3 separate regions of the Homo sapiens genome follow, and all the other regions are linked to region 3. The links are contacts of gene promoters, found by promoter capture Hi-C in blood cells and fetal thymus (Javierre and others, 2016). All regions are on one chromosome and are shown on one strand. The core of a region is centred on a gene start or on the middle of the fragment in contact, and the rest is flanking DNA. Distances in the headings are between cores, read along the strand shown.

Region 1 (3,265 bases), core at 410-2,909, 220 kb before region 3:
ACAGATCCGTGTTATAATTTATATTGGACTCCCCTAAAAACAGTCCAAATTGTAAAGGGAGTTTGGAGTAGACTGCAAAAATGACCACACATTACTCTCCTCCCTCCATCCATGCCCTGAGGTAGTGGTCTTCCCACGGTCTCTCTGGACTGGTCTTTTTCCAGCCAGTGGGGCATCAGCAAATGTGGTACGAACAGAGGCTTGAAAAGTACTTCAGGTTTGGGCTCTGTCCTCTCCTGATGACCCTGGAATCCTGAGACTATTATATAAATAATAAATGAGTCTATACTGGCTTGCTGAAGGATAAGAGGTCACCTCAGAACCATGTTGCAACAGCCCCCAGACAATACATCTAGGGAGAGACCATCCTAGGTCATCCAGCCACCAGACAATCTGCCAGGTGGCCAAAGACACATAAGAGGTCCCAGCAGGAATTAGCTGAAGCAGCCCAGACATAAAAACTACCCTGCTCACCCACAGAACAGTGAGCTGAATAAAATTATAAAGTTATTGTTGCTTTAAGCCACTACGTTCTAGGGTGCTGTGTTATACAGCAAACGCTATCTGATACAATGGAGAAAGAGTACACTGAACACTTACCCTGGTACCATACTACCCCTTTCAGAGTCATATTGCACAGTGGATGGATCATGGCATTCCAGAGAACAGAGTGCTTACTGGGACCAGTTACAGAATCGTATGGAATGGACCTGAAATCATATGATGCACAAGTGTCACCAGAGAGCCAGTGATTGATCACATAAGGGTCCCTAATTGGTCATCTATCCACTTTCACTTGTGGTAAACTTCTGATGAAAGCAACACAGAATTAAAATTGAATCGAAACTCTTTTTCTTGAAAACATATGAATATTCTCTGAATTTCACCTCCAGGTTATTCCCAAAATAAGTGTATCGGTCAGCTTTCTATGGTAATTAAAGGTAATTTCTAAGGTAATTAAAGCCACAGGGAAGGAGTGCTTTATTGTTGAGTTTCTCACATTGTGGGGGGGGGCCAATAAATTTACCTAACTTTTATTAAATAAACCTTTATTTAATGCACAGACATTTAGGTTGTTTTAAACTTTTTGCTTTTATATGGAATGCCAAGATCATCTTCCTTATAGCTAAGTCATTGCATACATGCTTAACTATATCCATAAGATAAATTCCCAGAAATGAAACTGCTGTGTCAAAGGGCATCTTTTTTAAGGCTCTGAACACGTTCTCAAATTTCTCTGTAGAATATTTATATGAATTTATCCTGTAGCTGCTGCGTGTGAGAAGCCCACTTGCCCACACCCTCGGGATTATCCCTTCCACCCCCAGAGATCTGGTCTAACGCTCACTCCTACTCTACTGCAGGCCATTCTTCCTGTTCCAAAGTTGAATATCTTCACTCCCCCACAGGCAAGCTTTTACCCAAACTATACCCAGAGCTCAAGCCCATCCTCCTCCCACAGGGCTTCCCAGCGTGAATGAGACATGGTCCATGAAAGCAAGTCACATACTGCTCATCTCTACATTGATGTTAGTATCGGGATTTGTATTCACTAGCCCTTTCCCTCCCCAAGTATTCTTCCTGATCCAGCCTTTCCTAAGCAGGTGTTCATAATCAGTATACTGATACATTTCTTTGAGTACATGTTTATAACATTTGTTCTTCCTGTTGGATTGTTTATTCTTCTAGGCAATACAGCACAATGGTTAGGTGCACAGACACTGAAGCCAGACTTGCCACTTACTAGTCATGCTCATGAGCAAGTTACTAAGTCTCTCTGAAATGTAGTGTCTTCACCCATGGTCTTTAATATCTACACTTCAATATATTAATATATAATAATATATATTCAATATATTCATAATTTATATATATAAAGTGCTTAGCACAGTGTCTGGCATATAAAAAGCTTTCAGTAACCACTAGCTATTACTATTACTGGGGGAAAAGATACTTTTTTTTTACATGTTCTCAAACGATTGTGGTGGCAGTGACAGTGAAAATAATGCTTTCCCTCTACATGAATAAATTACATACATTCAACACATATTGGGACATTCACCATATACTTAACTCCCCACAGAGGACGATGACCCTCTCTCTTGCATAATTCCCTGGTAGGCTCTTTCTCAGACTGGAGAATGCTGTCTTACCCTTGTTTAGGGACCCCACAGGCTTTCAGTGACCGTCCAGATGACCAGGCTTCAATGGGTGTCCCGCCCCAGCTGGAGGCGATCAGCCCGATGGGATACTGCAGAGTGTCATAAAGGTGACGTCCAAAGAGCCAGCACACTGCTGACATGTACTTGAAATATCCATGGCCTAAGTTTTCTGTTCAGAGAAATGGTTAAAGAAAAAGAGCCAGAGAAAGGTTGATGGATACAAACTGCAGCTGCTAGGTGGGTCGAGGTGAGAAGGGTGGGCAGAGGTCATTCTTCTGTTGTTTTCTAAGACTTTCAAAAGTAGGATAAGATTGAGAGGCACAGAGAAGATACAGCATCAAGACCAATATGCTGGTCTGAACACTATTATCTCTTCCAAACCTTCCCTAAGGAGAATCTTTTCCAAGGGAGAAAACTGTAACCTTAGTGATAGTTTCCTTTTATCTGTCTTCATGTTTTTTCAGTTACTCAAAATGCTTGTTCTCATAACAAGGAAATAGCTCTCTCTGCCTGGGAGAGAGGCAGATATGATAGCGATTTTGCTCTCAGTCTGATTATAAATAATTCACTTACATAACATGGAAGTTAAAACTCTGGCTAGGCAATAGGCTTCCCCATGCTTCCCATCACTTACAGGATCTGCAGACTCTCGGATAATCAATGCTCTCCCTCAAATAGGTGAGAGGTGGGAGGGCCATCATGTCCCCATGCTACTCTCTTCTGTGTCTCCCCTCTTACTCAGCCACTCATTCCCACTTAGCTCTGTGGAAGGGAAAAAGCAAGGAGGGGGCAACTTAAGAAGAAATGTGTATTTCTTCTTTTTTCTGGTGGCTTTATACCCAATTTTATAGCTATGCTAAAGAGGCTGGGCGCAGTGGCTCACACCTATAATCCCAGCACTTTGAGAGAATGAGGCAGGTGGATCATCTGAGGTCAGGAGTTCGAGACCAGCCTGGCCAATATGATGAAACCCCGTCTCTACCCAAAATACAAATATTAGCTGGGCGTGGTGGTGGGCACCTGTAATCCCAGCTACTCGGGAGGCTGAGGCAGGAGAATCGCTTGAACCTGGGAGGCATAGGTTGCAGTGAGCTGAGATCGTG
Region 2 (3,245 bases), core at 472-2,971, 230 kb before region 3:
AGAAATTAATTGCTCATGGTTTTTTCATTTATTAGCTGAGAAATAAATATAAAACATTAGAATCTTAACCTGGCAAGGTATGCCATTGGTTGAAATAAGAAAACCACCATTGATTGAAACCACTCACAAGAGAATTTATTACTGACAAAATTGACAGATCTCTAAAATTTGACACGGTAAATTGAATCCAGTGAAATAATAACCACAGAAGAAAACTAACAGTAGTGGAAACTATACTCAGTAAAAATTGCTTTGACTTTTTTTAGAAATCAGTAGTGCTCGATATCATTCTAAAAAATTATACAGAAAATAAATTAATCCTGTTCAGGATAATTTGACTGAAGTAAACATTGAAGAACTAGAAACTGTTTAAATGAACTTTAAAACTAGTCAAATAATTTAATTGGCTAGATAGAACTTGTTACAGAAATATTTTCCTGGCAAAAAAATCATTGCGCTTTATAGAAAACTGGCCAAATAATTAAATCAGCTAGTTAACTTGTTACATTTGTTACAAAAATATTTTCTTGGCAAAAATTCCTCAGAATTAGTGTAATTTCGATGCAACAGTTTCTTTTTATTAACATAACCAAGATATTTTAACGTTCAAAATGAAAGTAAATACAATGAAATGGCAGTTTGCAGTCAGCCTGTTTCTCCTAGATCTTGTAAAATTGACTTAAAAGATTACATGGAGAGTGATCTCATTTGTTTTTAAAATACCATTTGTATTTGTACTTAAGGATATAAATAAGTGGATTGGAAAGGTACACAACAAATTAAACGCTCACTTTTGGAAAGCTGTCAACCAAGAAGGGTAGAACTGAAACAGTCAAAGGACTTTCTCTAGGTACTTGGATTTGTTTCAATTTTTAGCAGCCCTATAGGAAAGTATGTGTGTCCCTTCTGAAGATGGTATACGTCAGCTTCACGTTCCAGAGTAAAGAAATATTTACAGAGTAGTATGCCCCTCTCTCCTTCCTTCTTGAGGATTGATCTCATTGCTCGTTTGTCTTTCTCAGTTTGAAATTGTTCCTGAAGATGACCCCCAGAATGCCATTGTCAGCTCTTCTGCAGATGCTTGTCATGCAGAACTGCTCAGGACTATAAGCACTACTATGTAAGTTGACCAAAAGCTTGAAAACAGGCTAAAAGATCACTGTTGGTACAGTGAAACCTTTTCTCTTGCTTTTAATGGGTGGAGATACTTTATTTTATAGAAACCTATCCTGGATCCTCCTGACATTGTGCCAACTAGAGCCTCCACATTATCAAAGTCAAGAAAGCTTATCCTGTTTGTTCATACCACTATTCTGTTCTTAAATCCATCTTCATCTCCCGCTAAGCTCTCAAACTAAAATTATCCCTCTCCTGTTTAGGGGGAAACTAATGCCTAACCTGCTTCCAGCTGGAGCTGACTTTTTTGGATTTTCTCATCCAGCCATCCACAACCTGATCCAGAGCTGTCCAGGAGCTCGAAAATGCATCAAGTAAGTGTGATCAAATTCATTCCCTTGAGAAAAGCTCAGTGATCATCCGGCCAGGGACTGGCAGTTCCTACTTTGTTCACTGACCTTCTGTGTCCAAAGCCTGCCTGCTTCTCGACCAGTAGGGCTCAGTATTGGCCCCCTTAGCCCTCTGGACAGGTAAGCAAGAGCCAGGACTCCACTGTTCGCTGATTATTACTATTTTCTGTATGTACCATGACAGCAAAAGGGGTGGGAAATCTAGCAGACTAATTTGTCACTAAAGAGGCCTGCTTATTTCTTTTAGGTTTTTGTTAGCAAATATGTGTTTTAGATATATATGGGCGGAATATAAAGAAAAATTACCTGATCCCTTTAGTGATAGGAATGGGTATTTATGTCTAGCAGATAACTCTCAAGGGTGATTTCCCTTGATTCTGCAGTTACCAGTGGGTGAAATTTGATGTGTGCAAACCTGGAGATGGGCAGCTACCTGAGGGGCTGCCGGAGAATGATGCAGCTATGAGCTTTGAAGCCTTTCAGAGACAGATCTTTGATGAAGATCAGAATGATCCCCTTCTGCCAGGTATCTTTAACTTTACCTTTCTGGTTTGAAAATTGACTGTGTTTAGGCTACCTTCCCATCTTCACACATAGCCGAGTACCCTAAATATCTATGCATTGAGTGATAAAAGCTTTCATTGAATCAGCCTTGCGGAGTGCTGAGTTAGAGGGGGACCTGCGGCCTGCATAGCTTCCTAGATTACTCACAGATGTCATGGGGAGCACCTGCGATCATAGTAAGGCAGGGTACCCCAGAAACTAAGGTATCTCATTCTGTAACCTAAGCAAGACTGGAGCAGAACACCAGGGGAAAGTTTACTGTGCAGGGAATAACATTTCAAGTGAAGTCAGTGGGGTCAAGTCAAGGCCTTGGCCCTGCCTGTGTTCCATGAGTTCCTCCCACAAATGAGTGATCAAGGGTTCAGGCTTTGGGGTCATATAGGGAAAACTCTGGGTTAAAAAATGGAATTGAAATTCTCACTCTTTGCCTAATATACTATATAACCCTAGGCAAGTCACTTAATGTTTCAACCAGTTTTCATTGTAAAAGTATCTGTCCTATCTTAACAAAGGCAAAATTGAGCTGACAAATGCAAGGGTGTTAAGGAATTGATTGAAAGGACATGTATATGTCTGACCAAAACAGTCTGCCCAGACTCCCGAGCAGCAGTGGAACTTAAGGAATTGTTTTCTCCAGGATCCTTGGACCTCCCAGAGCTTCAGCCTGCAGCCTTTGTGTCTTCTTACCAGCCCATGTACCTGACACATGAACCCTTGGTAGATACTCACCTGCAGCACTTGAAGTCTCCATCACAGGGTAGCCCAATTCAGTCTTCAGATTGAACAAGAAGGGATCAGATGCCACATCGTTTTTGTCGTGATTAATTTAACTTAAACTAAAATTTTGGGTATATGAAAGAAGGCAGCAATTCAGAAGTAAAGAAGATACTAACGTATTTCATCATGGAAGGTCCTGTGGTGATGGTTTTCCCTGGGAAAACCTTCAGCTGCTTTATTTTTAGTAATAAATTTCTCTTGTCAATTCTGTTTACTTTCATCTTGTAATCGGGATGTAATCTTTTTTGCTTAGCTCTGCCTGAGGTAAAGTAAACTTCAGCCTCTTATAAACAAGAGTGATAGAGAGCTGCAGGCTGCTACAACAAATACCATAGACAGGTTGGTTTATAAATAACATGAATTTATTTCTCACAGTTC
Region 3 (2,872 bases), core at 304-2,803:
CCTCAGGGTCTGCTCGGATTTATGTCTTCCCTGGGGGCTCCAGGGCCCTAGTCAGGCACCTGCAGATGAGGTGCTGAAAAGGACAGCTCCCAGGGCGCTGCGTGGCGGTGGGGTGGGGGGTCCATCCGGCCCCACCCCCACTCCCACCTACCCCCTCCCCCACACCTAGTGCTTCCAGCCTTTCTACGTCCCGCCCAGAACTGCTAGGGTTGGAAGGCACCTAAACACCCATAGTTGGAGGCTCACAGCCAGGCGCCTGGACTGAGGAAGGAGGCTTGGAACAAGCCCCCCACCCCTTGACAATGTCTCGGGTTCCCTTGAACAAGCTCTGCCTGAAATATTTCAATTCTTGATTCTGCTTACTCCAGAGTCTGCGACTGTATAGCACCCACCCCTCTGATCTCGACCCCTTTGGGGTCAGAAGCAGTCGCCCCATGAAAGTTGTCTCATCCCAGAACCTGACGGCTGAGCCAGAACTCTGGCACTGACTCTTCAATCAGCAGGGCCTTACCTCAGGTTAGGAATGCCCCGGCCTCTCTCTTTCCCTGATACCCCAAAGCCATCTCCTGTCTAGGAAAGTGAGTTTGTCGAGGTGGGTCTTCAGGTAGAAAGAACTCCAGAAAAGTCAGAAGCAGACCGCGACTGGAAGTGGGAGGTGGGAGTAGGGGCCCATGGTTTTCTTTTCGCCCCCCCCAGGAAGGACGACTGCTATCCGATTTGAACAGATTTGCACTAATTTTGCAGCAATCCCACATGCCTTTACAAAAATAATATTATCTTTGTTTTTGTCCTAGAATCCTTGGTTCCATTTCAGTCTCCTCAAAAACGTAAAACAATTTAATAAAAAATGTCAAAGCAGGGTAATGTAAAAGGATTCAAATAAATGACAGTTGCCTGGGTTTCCCTGGCTTTCAGTCTCCTACAGGAACTCCTAGATTAGGGCGTTTGGAGCAGGACTCCCGGGTCAGGGCGCGCCGCTCCATCCTCTGGCCTCCTGGCTGCAGACCAAAGGACCAGAGGGCAGAGAGGTGGACCTGTCTTGGAATTCTCTGCCTACTCCCAACTCTTGCTGCAAACCACCCCAGTCTCCTGCCCTTCCGTCGCCAAACCCCTAGACTTGGGAGGGAATGGAAACCAGAACTTTGGCAGCAAGGAGCATTGCTTGCGCTTTGCCTCAGTTTCCAAAAGGTTCGGGAAAAGAGAGGACAGATTCCTGTTCTAAAGTTGGGCAGAAGGGCAGAGTCCGACAGAGCCTCGTCCCTCATCTTGGGTGCTTTGAGACAGGGAAAATCTCTCGCCGCGTCCAGAACGGAACGCTGGGCTTGGGGTGCGGGGCGGGGACTCCAACTCGCGCGCTACGCTACTCGTGTCTCCTGCTCGGATAGTGACTGTAGAGGTAAGGGTGGGAGGGTGGAGGGAGGCGGATTAATCCCTTAATTACGCCGTGATCGGCGTGGCACCTGCTTTCCGCCTGCCCAGCTCCCAGGGGACTCCGGCACTAGGGGGTGGAGAGAAGGACGAGGGAAGGAGGAGGGCACGAAGAGGCACCGACCGTACCCAGGCGCACCGGCAGGAGAGCGGCACCGTGGCTGCCGCAGCGCGCAGAGGCTGTGGAGGGGCTTACGGCTCCCAGCCCACGGGTCTCAGACCCAGGGGCTGGGCCCCCAGCCCCCAGTCCCGATCCCAGCTGGGTCGAGCCATGCTGCGCTACCTGCTGAAAACGCTGCTGCAGATGAACTTGTTCGCGGACTCTCTGGCCGGGGACATCTCCAACTCCAGCGAGCTGCTCTTGGGCTTCAACTCCTCGCTGGCGGCGCTCAACCACACCCTGCTGCCTCCCGGCGATCCCTCTCTCAACGGTGAGACCCTGCCTCTTGGGGATATGGGATCCTGGGATGGGGATGAGGTGAGAGGGCGGCGTGGAAGGGAAGGAGAAGCGCTCCTGTCCCGAGGTCCGGGATTGAGTGGCGCCTCCCAGCGCCTCCCTGGGTCGTGGGGTCTAAGGGATAATTTGGAGCTTCGAGCACATGAGTGGGGGTACCCGCGGGAGGTCGAGGGCTTGGGAGAAGATGGCTACTGAGTCTTTTTACACCTCCTTCCCTTCCCCTACAACGCCCACCCCAGGTGAGAAGAACCGTTGCTGGTAACGGGCAGGGAAGTCCGAGCTAAGAAAGGCCCGGGCCCAGCGCAGGGAGGGCAGAGGAGGGGGCACAGTCTCCCGCCGGCCTCGGCCAAGCCAGGTCACTCGGTGACCCACCCAGGCAGCTGGTCTTCGGAACCCCGAAGTTTCCCAAGAACTCACTTAGGACCAGAGGAAGCCAAAATGCTGGATGTGTTTGCTACGGAGGGGATAGGGGCGGCGATCATTTTAAGGAAACTTAGAAGTTTGTCTTTCAGCGGCGGGACTCTCAGCCGGCCCACCCCGGCAGAGCTGTGGCGGGCGGGCGGAGCTGGCGGCGAGGTCGTTACCGCTAATTACGGTGATTAATAAATGACTGGGACAGCGCGCTCTCCCCTAGCGCCGCGGGGAAGCTGCGGGAGCCGGCCGCCGCCAGCCTGCGGAGAGGCCGGAGCGCGCCCCCTGCCTGCCGCATCGGGAACCCCCGCTTTACCGGGCGCTTTCGCGTGTGGTTCCCTCCAGGTGCACGCGGTCCCCATCCCTCTGCCTCGACCCACTCGAGTCTAGTGACGAGCACTGTGCTGGGGACTCGAAGGTGGAGAGAAAGGAGACCCTGGCAATATGTGTGTGTTCATGTGTGGGGCACATCAGGTGCTGAGGGAGGAGCCCCAGAGCCTCATTAGCATGGCCATTAGCTATTCATTAGGCTGCAGTCGAAGCATCTCCTGAGACCGGGAAGGGTAGAGGGGGAAA

Evidence for each region. The method cuts DNA at HindIII sites, captures the fragments that hold promoters and counts their contacts. A CHiCAGO score of 5 or more calls a contact.
Region 1: a fragment that was not itself captured here is called in contact with the fragment with the promoter of ROBO3 in region 3 in 2 of 17 cell types (endothelial precursors and total CD8 T cells); the score reaches 6.4 in endothelial precursors.
Region 2: a contact is called between a fragment that was not itself captured here and the fragment with the promoter of ROBO3 in region 3, in 5 of 17 cell types (non-activated CD4 T cells, naive CD8 T cells, activated CD4 T cells and 2 more). The highest score is 6.1, in non-activated CD4 T cells.

The regions. Positions count from the first base shown.
Region 1 is chr11:124,647,466-124,650,730 of GRCh38, forward strand. It overlaps SIAE (sialic acid acetylesterase), which reads right to left. Exons shown (of 10, transcript NM_170601.5): 5 at 2,154-2,331; 6 at 601-710; 7 at 1-33. Among named protein-coding and RNA genes, the nearest start is that of SIAE, 25 kb to the right of the region's middle. The HindIII fragment of the contact is 495 bases long and covers 1,413-1,907 here.
Region 2 is chr11:124,629,366-124,632,610 of GRCh38, forward strand. It overlaps TBRG1 (transforming growth factor beta regulator 1), which reads left to right. Exons shown (of 9, transcript NM_032811.3): 6 at 1,023-1,120; 7 at 1,380-1,490; 8 at 1,910-2,052; 9 at 2,728-3,245. The coding sequence ends at 2,873. Among named protein-coding and RNA genes, the nearest start is that of TBRG1, 8.1 kb to the left of the region's middle. The HindIII fragment of the contact is 875 bases long and covers 1,285-2,159 here.
Region 3 is chr11:124,863,879-124,866,750 of GRCh38, forward strand. It overlaps ROBO3 (roundabout guidance receptor 3), which reads left to right and starts at 1,554. Exons shown (of 28, transcript NM_022370.4): 1 at 1,554-1,859. The coding sequence starts at 1,700. RefSeq lists an enhancer at 1,870-2,546. The HindIII fragment of the contact is 17,224 bases long and covers 1-2,872 here.